Linked DNA regions of Homo sapiens: all the other regions are linked to region 2. The links are contacts of gene promoters, found by promoter capture Hi-C in blood cells and fetal thymus (Javierre and others, 2016). All regions are on one chromosome and are shown on one strand. The core of a region is centred on a gene start or on the middle of the fragment in contact, and the rest is flanking DNA. Distances in the headings are between cores, read along the strand shown. Region 1 holds the start of SEPTIN11 (septin 11). Region 2 holds the start of CNOT6L (CCR4-NOT transcription complex subunit 6 like). Region 3 overlaps LOC124900721 (a long non-coding RNA gene).

The links. Contacts are between HindIII fragments. The CHiCAGO score rates a contact against its expected background, and 5 or more counts as called.
Region 1: a contact is called between the fragment with the promoter of SEPTIN11 here and the fragment with the promoter of CNOT6L in region 2, in 1 of 17 cell types (naive CD8 T cells). The highest score is 7.7, in naive CD8 T cells.
Region 3: a fragment that was not itself captured here is called in contact with the fragment with the promoter of CNOT6L in region 2 in 1 of 17 cell types (total B cells); the score reaches 5.1 in total B cells.

What each region holds. Positions count from the first base shown.
Region 1 is chr4:76,947,102-76,951,532 of GRCh38, reverse strand. It overlaps SEPTIN11 (septin 11), which reads right to left and starts at 1,781. Exons shown (of 10, transcript NM_018243.4): 1 at 1,603-1,781. The coding sequence starts at 1,629. LOC105377294 (a long non-coding RNA gene) reads left to right here and starts at 1,968. Exons shown (of 3, transcript XR_001741739.2): 1 at 1,968-2,570. RefSeq lists silencers at 1,487-1,796, 1,827-2,006 and an enhancer at 2,917-2,996. The HindIII fragment of the contact is 7,046 bases long and covers 1-4,431 here.
Region 2 is chr4:77,816,626-77,821,449 of GRCh38, reverse strand. It overlaps CNOT6L (CCR4-NOT transcription complex subunit 6 like), which reads left to right and starts at 2,082. Exons shown (of 12, transcript NM_144571.3): 1 at 2,082-2,146. The coding sequence starts at 2,142. RefSeq lists silencers at 1,036-1,185, 1,446-1,605, 1,646-1,745, 2,236-2,305, 2,386-2,785. The HindIII fragment of the contact is 6,822 bases long and covers 1-4,771 here.
Region 3 is chr4:78,618,408-78,622,761 of GRCh38, reverse strand. All of the region lies in intron 1 of LOC124900721 (a long non-coding RNA gene), which reads right to left. Among named protein-coding and RNA genes, the nearest start is that of LINC01094, 25 kb to the left of the region's middle. The HindIII fragment of the contact is 1,822 bases long and covers 1,753-3,574 here.

The DNA of each region.
Region 1 (4,431 bases), core at 532-3,031, 870 kb after region 2:
AATTTAACCAGATAAATTTCACCTCTATAGACCTCAATTTTCTCACCAAAAATAAAACGACTAGCCCAGAGACTATGCAAATTCCCTCAGTAACAATAACCTACATGTGACCACTAATTATCAAGAGCACAATTTATGTGCAAAAGAAGACCAGAATTCTTAAAAGAGCCATGTCATTAAATCGTAGAGTTGAAAAGGCCTAAAAGACAGTCATGATTCGATATGACCGCTGTGTTTTCTGACTGCAGAAAACGTCTTTGAAAGCACCGCGGGCAGCCGAACCACCAAATCGAATTAGAATCCGCAAAGGGACCCATGAACTTCTCCCGAGGGGGTAGGGTGCAAAAGGCGCGCGTATCTGGGGAGGAGTTAGGCGGGGAGAGGGGGAAGAGCCGGGAGCCTGAGAGCACAGCCTTGCATTTCTGGGATTTCCGAGCTTCCAGTATCTCAGTAAGTCTTTCGTCTGTAACTACAAAATCTCCCGAGCCACCACCTGCAGCTGCACAGCTGTGGGAAAGGGAAGAAGAAAAAGGGAAGAGGAGGTGATAGACAGGGAAAGACATCGCCCGAGGCGCCCCCAAAGCCAGTAAGGCGAGTGGACTGTGAACATCGACGATGAAAAGGGGAAAGGGAAAACAGGAGGACTCCGCCTTTCCCACCCAGCTCCGCTCCTTTCAAAAAAAAGGAAAGGCCGCCGCCGCCCCTTCCTCCGCCTTTCACTTGGGGATGCGGAGCGGCCACTGAACCGCACCCTCGGAGTCCCGCTCCCCTCCGGCCCGGCCCCGGGGCGCGGACCGAGTCTTGCAACCCAGTAGGCGCGGCGCCTTGGCCCACACACTCGGGGCAAAGGTATCTCCTCCCTCCTACTCTCCTCCCTCCCGCCGTGGGGCACTCGATTCTTCACGCACCCGCCCGCCCTTCCTCTTCCTCGCGTCCCAGCCTCCTCAGCCCGCCGCCCCCGGCCTTTCAGCCGCAGAACATTTCAGTCCTTCCACCCACACCACAAGGGAGCCTCCAGAAAACTTTGTGTGTGTTATCTGGGGCTTTGTCCACATCCTGGGCAGGGCCCGCTCAGCCGGGTGGATGCCCGAGGGTGTCCGGGATCTCACAATGCGCTGGGGAGGCCACCACGGAAATCCCACCCCTCTGACCTGCTTCTACAGCAGTGCCACACGCAGCACTTCAGCTCGCAATTCCCATGCCCTGAGCGCCCCCTCGGCGCGGGGGAGACTGGAGGAAAGCCCCGAACCCGGCGCCCTTCTGGCTGTCACGAGGGAAGAGGTGCGCGGGCAGAGGGAGGCGGCTGAGACACGCCGCGCCTCAAAGAATTATTTTAAAGGGAACAGGAGAGGGGTCCTTTTTCTTTCGCATTCCCAGAAGAGGGGCGCGACGAGGCGATCCACTGTTGCATCACGTAACTGAGCCCCTGGGCTCCTAACCCCGACCCCAGACGCGCGCCCAAATTCGTGCACACACCCACAGCCGTCGCCGCCGCCGCGGGGCCGAGCACCCGCCCGGCTCCCCTGTGGTCCTCACCGCACCCGCCCCAGAGCAGAGACCACCCGGCGCCCGAGGAGCAGCAGGCGAGGCCCCAGCACTCACAGACGGTCTCCCCACGGCCACGGCCATCGCAGCTGCGGCACCGGCTCCGGCTGCGCCCGGGTGCTTTACGCCGACTCCGGCTGCTGCTAGTGCTCGGGCTCCGGCTCGCCTCCCTCGCGCCTCCCTCGCGGCTGCGCTCTGCTCGCCGGCGTCCCGCTGGCAGCCAGCGGCATCTGCTCCCCCCACGCCGCCGCCCCTCCCGCTTTATTAGAGCAACATGGCCACCCGCCTGGAAGGGACCATTCGCTTCCCCAGGAAGGGGTGTGAGCCTGCGCGCCCGGCCGCGGTGGTGGGCGGGAGGATGGTGGGCGGGCTCCGAGCCCAGCTCCACTGGCCCCGGCCGCGGGGCTCGCCCCTCCGTCCCCAAACGACCGTCTCCGCTGCCATGAGATGCCGACAGCCTGTGCGCTGGCCGCCACCCCCTGCTCCATCAGGTGCTGGAATCTGAGTAAAAGCCTGGGCGCGAGCTCCCAGCCCCGGGGCCTGCCACCGGCTCCACGAAGCGGGCAGCTCCAGCGGCCGCCGGGAGAAGGAAGGGCGACCGGGGGAGACGGGTCGCAGGGACAGCACGTGGCGGAAAGTTAGCCCCGGACTAGCACGCCCCACCCGGAGAAGCCGGCCTGGAAGGGGCTGCGGACCACCAGGCGGAGCGGTGGGCGACCGAAGTGCGGCTGGGCTGGCCTCCTCGTCTCCGCACTGGAAGAATTGCCCTTCCGCAAGTCTTCCCTTCCCACATGGGGGCCCTCCAGGCCGCACCTCGGTCGCCCACCGCTTCCCTTGAGAAGGGAGACTAAAGACAGGCATCTGGAAGCTGTCACTGTGGCGCGCGGGCAGACAGGGGATCCCATTGGAGAGGAAGAGCCGTAGTAGTCGCTGCTGCCTTCGGCCGACCCAACGGCCGCCTGCTTGGGAGGAAGAAAAAGAACGCCCCCGCTGAAGAATTAAGGCAGCCATTGGTTGCTCTAGGGGTAAGGACCGAGGCCTCCCCTGGGTGTCACTGGAGCAGCCACACGTGGGGGATCAGCCGACTTCATTCGATCGCTGGCGACAGACCCGGCGACCCGTAGGAATGCGCGCTGGGGCTGCGGCTGGAGGGCGTGGCGACGGCAACAGGCGGGTGGCTCGAGTGGGTGCGACTCTGGGCGCGTGGGACTGAGAACTCCTCCGCCGTGGGGAAGATTTTTTTCCCAGCAGATGTTGGGGTGTTACTGCGTGTCTGAGGGGCCGGCGGAATGGAGGGGTCCCGGTGCGTGCAGGGCAGCGAGGTGTGTCAGATGAGCTGTGGATCCCTGCGGCCCCACGTGGGCCGGAGAGGGGGGCCCACGACAACAAGCGATTGAGGACAGCGATGGACAGGGCGGGGAACCAGCTGGGTGGAAGCACAGGGAGTGTGGTGAGGAGGGAAGGGCTGTGATCTGCCCTCGGTACGACGCCCCAAGGGACAGCCTGGCCTCCTGAATTAGGGAAAAGACAACCGGTCTCTTTAGACGGGCGCCTCAGAGTCTGACCTGAGTCTTCAAACGCCCAGATCCCCTGGGGCCTTGAGTCTCCCTGTCCCGCTGGCCCTGCCTCGCCTGCGCTTCAGGACTCCGACGCCCCCGCAGCCTTGGGCTAAGGGTCAGTCGTCCCCGGGCGCGGGTCCGGCTGCCCTGGAACTGATGCTGGATTTCGCTGGTAGGTGGGCTAGGGGCTTGGTCACCCCGTCTGAATTCCACTGTCAGGACAGCTGTGGAACCGCCAGAGAAAAGTCTGGCCATGAAAGAAAGGTGAGGGGCGCCGACGCAGAGCTTATTTATTCAGTCTGTGGGCGGACTCAGACGTGCAGAGCACCAACCTCTTCAATTTCTGCCCTCTAGACTCCAAATCTTTTGAAATTAGGGACCACCATTTTATGCCAAACATACAGTAGGCGCTCAATAAGTGTTGAATTAAGATTACACATAAATGGGCCGGGCGCGGTGGCTCACGCCTGTAATCCCAGCACCTTGGGAGGCTGAGGTGGGCCAACATGGTGAAACCTTGGCTCTAAAAAAATGCAAAAATTAGCCAGGCATGGTGGCGCTTGCCTGTAGTCCCAGCTACTATAGAGGCTGAGGTGGGAGAGTCGCTTGAACTCTGGAGGCGGAGGTTGCAGTGAGCCGAGATCGCGCCACTACACTCCAGTCTGGGTGACGCAGTGAGACCCTGTCTCAAAAAATATATAATAATAAGATTACACACAGATGGGTGCTGTGCAAAGGGAGGGGGAAGACAAATACTTTCTTCTGCAGCTCTGGTACATGGACATTTTGTCCTTTCTCCATAAGGAGGATCAGACAGCAGCAGCACTGCCCATGGACCAGAGGCCTCATGTAAGGCCTGGGAAAAGAGGGCTCCACACACCACCAACCGGATGTAAGGGCAGTTGCAAAGGAACTGTGTTATCTTGACCAGAACAGACTGTAGAATTTGTTTATCAAATTTTTTTTTTTTACTTATTTATTTTGTGAATGTATATGCTGTAAACTCATCTGCTTAGATTGTAAGAATGTGAATGCCCTACCTTGGTGGGTAGGTTAGTTTATTCTAATCAGCAAAACTTAACGTTACATATTCCAACATCTCATTTGGGATGTGAAGATGCTATGGGGAGGGTGGGTATCCTGGCATTGCTAGAATGTTGGAGCCTTAGCGAGAGAGTGGCAGAGTGGGGAGAACCTGGCACTTCAGCTACAGATGATCACTTATGAGCTTTGTTATATCAAATAAGTTAAACTTTCATCTCATTTTTTTTTTTTCTATTGTAAAATAGGGTAGTAACAGTGAGTCCTGGGGGAGGACGTGTTCTGT
Region 2 (4,824 bases), core at 833-3,332:
GACATGTTTCACAGAAGATGGTGTGGGGCTGGTGTTGCTAGGGAGGGAAATGGAAAATTAACATAGGTAGAAAAGAAAATAGTCTGTCGTCTTGTGAACTGAGGGGCTTTTTTACTCACTCATTCACCCATCCTGGTGCCAAGATGAAAGTGGTGCAATAGTTCTGCAATTATGGACTCTTGTAACAGCTGTTCAGTTTTAGCTAAATGATGATTTGCATTTTCACCGCACCTTTTCCCCCAAGAGATGAAGGCATTTTACATTCAGTAATAAGGCCTAAGATGAATTGCAACCAACGCAACGTGCTTAGTGTGCTAAACACTCCTGTGGGGGAAAAAATACTGAACATTGCTAATATACCCTTGACCAACACTGGTAAATACACGAGCCCGGGCATGCATTGAGAAAGAGATTAAAATTGTGCAAAACTGCAACAGCAGTACTCTGCCTCCACAGCCGGTGTAATTTGCTTTTTGGACTGCTGGCCCAAAAAAGCTGAAGCTGGCCCACAAAAACAAAAACAAACCCCAGAAACTTAAAGTATCACAGCCAGGTTCACCAAGTAAACACTACTATTTCTAGTTTGCATTTGGATGTTTTCATTCTGTAGATGGCATGGATAAGCTACAAACAACAAACTAAAGTCTACAACGAGAAGGGAGAATTAGAAAATAGGACCGGGTTATCGCTGAGCGTCACAGGTTCTTTTATTTACCTTTGACGATACAACTTACAGATGCTATATGTTTTTAAAAAAAATCCACCGAATATGTCAGGAAACATTTCCTTCGGTCACTTCACCTCCCCTGGCGTCTCAGCCACCTAGACCTACGCTCTGCTTCGCTGTCAGGTCGCCTCGGGCGAGGAGGGTGCAGTAAACAGCGCCCACACAAGAACCCGGGGTGAGGCGGTTTCCCGTCTCTTCGCCAAGGCTCTGTGGATGTGGGTTTCTGAAACTCTACCACTCTTCTCAGCCCCGCTCCTCGCTCAGGCCAGGAAAAAAGAGTGAGAAAACAGCCAGAGCAAAACAGAAAACCATTAAGAAGCCCGGGCCTCCGCGCGCTCACCGCGACAAAACGCGGCGCACGGGGGGCGGGGCCAAGGCGCTGCGTAGGAGCTCCGCCCCGTCACCGCCCCGCCTCCTTCCCCTCACCCCAACCCTCCGCGCCGGGGAGTGACTGACTCCCGCCAGCCCCTCCACGTCAATCAACCCTCCTCGTTCTCGCACTCTCTGCACCTTGTTATTAATCTCAATACCGATATCGCCCGGACGCCTCTCCCCCGGCCCTCGGGGGTGTGAACGTGTGTGAGCGGGAGCGAAGGCACCGAAAGCTGGCGTCTCTGTTCAACCTCGGCCCCAGCAGCACCCGGCGCAGCGGCAACCCCCGCAGCGGCGGCAGCCCCAGCACCAGGAGGCCAAGGCCAAGGCCAGGCTCTGCGTGGCTCTCGGAGCAGTAGCCGCGGCTCCGGCCCTGCGGGGGCGCAGCTTCCTTCGGCTGGGGCCTTCGCGCCGGCGGCCGCGGCCGCGGGGCCTCTCTTGCGCGCCTGGGGTCACTGTCCTCGAAGCCCGGCGGCGCGGCCCTCGTCCCCCTTCCCGACCCCCGGTCTGTCTCCTCGCTCCCTTCAGCCGCCTTCCGCGCCGCCGCCTCTGCCGTTCGTCAGGCGGCCCGGCCCGGCCCGCCCGCCCCGCATCCCCTCCGGCCGGTGCCTCTCCCCTCCGGCGGGCTGCCTGCATGTCTTTGCTGCCCTCAGCCCCGCCGCCACCGCCGCCGCCGCCTCCCCCGCCGCCGCAGCACCAGCACCAGCCGCCCCGTCGCCGCCGCCGCCGCCGCCGCCCGGACCCCGGCGCGCTGAATGCAGGTGAGGAGGGGGCGCGGGCCCCCCGAGACCCCGGGCCCGGGTTCCCTGCGCGCCCGCCCGCGAGCCCCGGTTACGGGCCCTGTGTGCCGCCGCGGCTTCCCCTCGGGGCGGGCGGGAGCGAGGCCCGCCGTGGGTGTTTGTGTTTGCGTCTGCGTCTGCGGCCGCGGCTCTGGAGGGGAAGCATCTGTGGGGGCCTGGTGCGCGCGCGCGCGCGTGTTTGTGTGTGTGTTTCCCCTGCCGCGGGGAAATGGCTGCTGTTGCTTCTGGGCCAGAGGAAGAGAATGAGGTAGAGTGTTCTTTTGCCTCCGAGTAGGACCGAGAGTGTTGGGAAGAGGAGCGCGTCCCCGGGGAAATGAGGTGGGAGAGGGACAAATGTGCGTGTGGGTGTGCGAGTTGGGACTTTGGCGGGCGGGGAGGCGGCCCGAGGACCCACGGCGAGTGGGTGTGTGTCGGGTGACTGGAGGGGGCGGCGGGGCTGACCCGCGTCTCTTCAGAGGCGGGCGAAGGTTCCGGGGTGTGTGTGTGTGTGTGTGTGTGTGTCGGGGGTGGCCCGGGGCCGGGACCCCAGAGTGGCGTGTCCCTCCCGCTTTGTGGCTGCGGCTCCCGAGCCTCGCAGGTGAGAGCTGCTCCTAGGGGGCCGGCCGGGGAGGGCTGAGTGAGTGCGGCACACGCGCGGCAGCGGGGCTGGGAGAGCTGCTGGTCGGTGCCGCGCCGCTGATCCCGGGGCCGCCGTTCCCCGGCCGCGGCAGGAAGCGCGCCGGCCTGCAGCGCGGCCTAACTGCCTGGGCGCCCGCCCACCTCCCCGGACGCCTCCCGGGACGGCGAGCCCGCGCGAGCCCACGGCGCTGCCTCGGGCCTGGGCAGGTGAGGGTCGGAGGCGGGACTCGCCGATTGCCGTCGCCGTGGCCGCCTCCGCGTCTCCTGAGAGGCGAAGGCTTATTTTGGCGTTCCAACTGCAAGCCTTCGCCCGGCCGGCTGTGGGACCCGAGGGAGGAAAGTGAATCAGAACAGTCAGTCTTGGGAATACGCGGTGTCGTGTTCCCTTCTTTTCATCCTTCCCCTAAGGCTGTGTGGAGGGACTGAGTAAATATTTTGGATTTTTGTTGCAAATACTTTGCCGTTGGTAAGATTTTTTTTTTTTTAATTAGACAAACATTTTCTTGGAAGGGCTGAGGAAGAAAGGGAAACTGGCTTTCCTGGCCTGTGGGATTGGATGGATTTTGTGCATTTGAAATTGTTTTATCCTGCCTCCTAGGGGGAGAGGCGTGTACGCGCCGCCGAGCTGAGGAGCTGGGTGAGGAAGAGGAAGTTACTGGAGCTGTCATCCTGCTTAACTCGGTCGGCTATTGAGCTTAGACTGTTTAGGTGGATTGTGTTCAGGGAGTTTAGCTGAGCCGTTTGTACACATTGGAAGCACAGTGTTACATTTTACCGTATTGCCTCTAGTTATCTTGTCAATCAAGATAGGCTCAACAAACATGTTTTCCTCAGTCTCCAAAAACTAGATCAAGCAACCTCTGTTGTCTACTCAGTATGTGCTGCTGGAAAGCTATTTTGAGAATAGCCTAAGCAAAACCCAGTTGTAAAGATAAACCTGCTGCCAATAGGTCTACAGTACATTTCAGAACCAAATACAAATGGCATTTGGATAATTATTTGCTAATGTGCTTTTCTACTCCAACCTCATTACATTTGTATGTAGTTAGATCATTTAGCTAGAACCGTGCTGTGGATAAAAGCATAATACAGTTTCGATCCTTGTAGGCCGTACTCTGTGTCATGGCCAGAGATTGCTCTTTGCACCTGGTCTCACAAAGAAATAGTGTATGCTGTTCACGGGGAAGTGGAGGGAAGAGAAGGAGGGGCGAAGAGCTGTTCTCTATTACCACTACTGGAAAAACAATTTAACATACGTAGTTAGTGGGAAAAGGACTTGTTTTACAGACTTCAGTTAGCCTCCCAGCTGTGTGATTTTTCCTTAGCTGTTTGACCTTAGGTAACATATCTATAAGCCACAGTTTTATCAGTCACAGAGAGCTAATACCTTTATAGTAAGGTCGTTTTGAGAATAGAATGAGAAAACATATGTTTGGCATGTAGTAGATGCTTAGTTAAATTTTAGTTCTGCCTCCTGCAGCCCTGACTATGGGCATTGAAGAACCTTTGCAAACACAAATATGATTAATTATTTAGAGCAATATTAAGTAACTATAACGTAAAAAAGACAATGGAATCTTTCAGAGCCCTTCAGTATACAAAAGGTATATATATAAACTTTAATGTATATAAGAAGTTTTTTTCTAATAATAAAAATAGTCATTAAAATAGCCTAGTTATTTATAAAAATAGTCATACTTAATTTTTTTTTCATATTTTCAAATAGACCATCTCTCAGTTTCATTATTCTTTATGATTTTCGTTTTGTAGCCCTGGAAAAAAATTTTCAACCTCTATATAGCACATGTATGTTTCAATACAGTTAAACATTAAAAAGGATCAAGGAACCAAAATTTAGATAGATCCCCAAAGTTTAAATGCTACGAAAAATGCTAGCTCATGTTGACTGATTTGGTAAATAAAACTTCTTAGAATATTTCTCTGAATATAAGGTAAAATCCTCTGTCCACTTAATTTTCAATAACTTTCCATTTTTAGTATTTTCTCTGGAGTAGGAAATGTGTTCATTAAATTTTAACTGCTGTGTGGAAAAAATAATGTCATGGAGAGGTATGGAATTTAAGGTAAAGATAACAGAAAAGTTAACATAAAGATTGTTTTCTTTTTGTTTTGGGAAAAGACAGGACAGAGAATGTGGGAGTTTGATTGGTTTAAGTTTGTCATGGCCCTATTTACAAATGCCGGGTTTCCCAGTAGGGCTTACGTAATTTATTTGTATCAATAATGATAAGCTTTAAAAAATATTATTTTCTAAAATTCAAACTAAAATTTCAACACATTCAGTAT
Region 3 (4,354 bases), core at 1,414-3,913, 800 kb before region 2:
CTGCCCAGTTGAAGACTGTGCAGTTCTCAATGCTGTGACTCACCAGATTCCATCCTCACTTCCCAAGCTTACTTCAGCAGCGGACTCAGTCCTGCTCCTCTGCCCTGCCCTTTGCCATAATCTATATTGACTCTGGAATCCACATTAACCTTTTAGATTCCTTTACCCCAGAGGTATTTCCTGGGTTGAAGACCTCCACCTTTGACCTGCCTTAGTCAGTGTCGTTAACACTCAGGGTAATCTCTGTTTCTGAGATCTATTATCCCATTTGCAGCCACAGCCTGTCATCTCCTTCACCCCACCCAGGAAGCCCATCTCTAGCTTCCCTGGAACCTCTCCTGCGTCACATGATCTATCCCATTTCATTCACTAATTCTATTTGCCTTCACTGCTTCCTGCCTTGCTTACTAGAATCATAGACTCCCTGTGTGCCCCTAAATTCTGGACTTCACTTCCAAAGAACCCATGGAAATAAATGTAAAGTAGTAATAAGGTGGCAATGTGGTAGATAAAATTAGATGGGATTTCCTCCTCCTCTTCTTATTGCTCCTATTCTTCATCTTCCTCTCATTCGTTTTCGTTTGTGTTTCCAGGTAACTGTGCTTTGAAGAAAGAGGTGGAACTTTGAAGCTGTGGCTCATTTCCTTCCCAGAGCCATCTAACTTGAGCCACCCCAGTGCTCCTCCTACCTCTCCATTTCACTTCCAAAACACTTGGTGACTCCCTAGCACGCCAACACAGAGAATCACTGTTCTAGAGGATTTCTACCCTAAAAGCCTCCGTTTTCTTCTCTCAACTCCTCCACCCTGTAACCCCACAAAGTTACACACAGTTACACCTCCTACTTTATAGTGACTACTGAAAATAGTCCTTCCTATTTTGGGATGTGTCCCTCCAGAAACAGATGCTGAGAAAAGGATCCAGGGATCCCAGGAAGCACTGGGAAGTGAGTGCAGAAGTGAGACAGAAAAAGAAAGAAAGCCGGTACAGGGTGTGTTGTGAGTCAGTTGTCACTGCGGGCAGCTGGGGCTCAGACTTCCTGGGGGTCTCAGGGGCAGCATAGATCATGCCTCAGAGTTGTCTCACTTGGGAGGCAAGAGCCTGTGGTATTTATCCATGGCCTCCATCTGTCACTGGTTGAGAGCCACCCCAGGGGTGTTACTCCCTGACACTTCTGTTCTGACCCAAGTGTGGTCAGCTCCCACAGACAGATAAAGGCTGCAGCAGGGTCACCGGCACTTGCAGTAAGGAGAGTCAGAACGTAGGAAATGCTGAGTGTCAGGGACATCTATGGAGCACCAAGAACCTTCTATGTTTCCTATCTAACTAGCTTTACTGTAAATGTAACTATCCCTGTTTCTAGCTTCCTATCCTTTTATTCATTGTCTTAGGTATTCTTGGATGTATCATTTTAATTTAATCTTCTTGACCATAGAAGTTGGCATTATCTCAATTTTATAGAAGAAGAAACTGAGAAATTAAGAGTAAGCAACTTCACAAAAATTACCAAGCTAGTAAGTTCTGGAACTGTTATTTAAAGTCTCAAAAATCCAAGTATTTTCTAGTGGAGCAGAAATGCAAGGGCAGAACCTTGGGACCACCCATCATTATTAGCAATGTCCTGGGTAATAAGAGATGGGTTCAGAGTAGAAATAGAGGGGTTATGTCAGAGAAGGGAAAAAACTCTTCATCTAAGACTGGTTTTGACCCTGTTCCCTGATTCAATTACTATTGACACAGCACACTAAAGCTTAGTAGGCCAGAATCTTACTGTTTCTCCCAGAGGCCCTTATATAATTTCTAAGAACAAAGATCAGATAAAATGCAATTTGCAGAATAAGTGATGTCTGGCATATAATAAGTACTCAATTTAATTTAACAATTATGTATTGATAATCTAATATGTGCCAGGCGTTGGACTAGATGCTAAGAATGATGGTGGACCACAAATATTGACTGACAGAGGCAGGAGTTCGCTTTTGAATATGAAATATATACCCCACATTCTCAAACTAACTAATTATACATAACCATCAACTAACAATGGCCACTTTCACAGTTAAGACGAACCTAGTACTCAATAGTTTTCTCAGATCTGCCTTGACTTATTTTCATTTAACATTTAACAACAGCAGATAATGTTGACGTGAAAAGAGCACACTAAACATAGGATTGCTGTGAGGATTAAATGAAATAAGTGCCAAATCCCAGGCATTTAATATAATTGATCATTCTTATCTTTATTATAGACTGTAAGTTCCATGAAAACAGGCACTGAATTTTTTTTTCTTTTTTTTGAGATGGAGTCTCGCTCTGTCACCCAGGCTAGAGTGCAGTGGCATTATCTAGGCTCACTGCAACCTCTGCCTCCCAGGTTCAAGCAATTCTCCTGCCTCAGCCTCTTGAGTAGCTGGGATTACTAGTGTGCGCCACCATGCCCGGCTAATTTTTGTATTTTTAGTAGAGACTGGGTTTCACCATGTTGGTCAGGCTGGTCACGAACTCTTGACTTCAAGTGATTCATCCGCCTCGGCCTCCCAAAGTGCTGAGATTACAGGCTTGAGCCACCGCGCCCAGCCGAACAGGTAGTAAATTTTTACATGTATATGCAGCTTTTAGAGTAGTGTTTAGTACACAGTAGGCTTTCAGTTCACATTGATAGGCTAAATGAGTAATATGGATATTATTACTCCAATTTCTCAGATGAAATTAATACTCAGAGAGATTGAATAAGCTGCTCACTTTCTCAAAGCTAGTTGCTGTAAGAGTTAGGATAAATGACCTATTTCTTTTTTTTTTATCCTATGTACAGTCATTCCTAATAAATAACGTACTTCTAACTCCACTGTGCCCTAAGGGCTTCTCTAAAGCATGTAGCGTGACGCTGAGCACACAGTAGTTCTTCAACAGTTGCCACTATTGCTGTGTGTCACCGGTCAGCGGTGTGTTATTAGTTCATTACTGTCTTATGATAAACTTCTCCATTGGCTTGCAGGTACAGAGAGCAACTCTGCTGCTTCTCCTCCGGAGTGCGGCATCATCTTCCTGCTCTTCCTTCCATTTGCTCTGTTGGCTCCTACTCCCCTTCCACTGAAGTAACTGTAGCTTTCCCCAGGGCTTAGGCCCAGGCCCTACTGAACCTCTATTTCTGTGTGTTTGTCTGCACGTCTGCAATCACTTCAACTCAAACTGCACCCACCAACGACATGACCCTTAGAAGCTGCCAAATCCTCGTTGCTGAATGGTTTCAGTACTGCTACTGCTGGAGAAAAAGAAGAAAAATTCACATCCTTCCCCCCAAAAAAGAAAGGGGGAAACATGGAACCAGGGAAATTCTGTAAGTAATGGTGAACTGTTTATTCAGGGCTCCAACTCTGCCCTTGCACATGTGCCCCGCTGTGGCACAGTCTATAGTTTTGAACTTCGGATAGTACAGTGCTCAGCAAGTGAAGATATTACCTTCTGGTCTGAGAGCCTCCTGACCAGTCTTGTCAGATTGAAAGATACTGACTTGGCTCTATCAAGGTGGCTTCTGTCCTGTACTAGATGACTTTATATTATTGATATGTAAGCTTCTGAGAGACTTATTTAGACTTCAGTATTACTGACCGTTAGATGCCAGTGATGTGTGGTGAAGTTGCTCAGTGTGTGAAGTCAGAGAATTTATGAGACACCCAAGTGTTCAGACCTACCTCCCAACCCCAGAGCCCAAGAAACGGGCCTCTAAAGTAAAGAGCTTTGTAACTGTTGCTACTGCTGTATCATGGTCCCAGCGTGAGAGAGTCAAGCGTATAGATTTTGGATCTACTGTATAGAAATCTCAGTTTGTTTTGTGGCTCCAGAACTATATCTAGAGTGGTCTTAACGTTTCTGAGCCTCTTTCCAGACTAGTAAATTGAGATAAGGTTACCTGCCTCATGGTGTTGTTATAAAGTCAAAATGAGACAAAATATATGAATTGCTCATAGTGAGTGTTAAGAAATGGTGCTTATTATTATTGAAACAAGAGGACCTCTGAAAGAATGCAAGTCAATGCCTACTGGCTCTTCAGGTCGGTTGGCTGAGAAGAGCATGTGAGGTTATAAAGCCACAGTCCAAAGGGAGCTGAATTCTCTCTGCCTGCACAGAGAGGTCAAGAATGTGGTGCAGTTGGTTAAGTTGTGAAAGTTCCACATGATTATACAGAATTTGCAGTCCTTTGTCAATTTTCCCATAATGACTAAGTCTTTCAAAATAAAAAAGACCTTATGCATATACTTGATAACAGCAAAAGAGACTGGGAAATTGGGGAAAGATGTAAATAATAGCCAATGACTACATATTTCAGATATTGTGCTAATTCCTTTACTTGTGT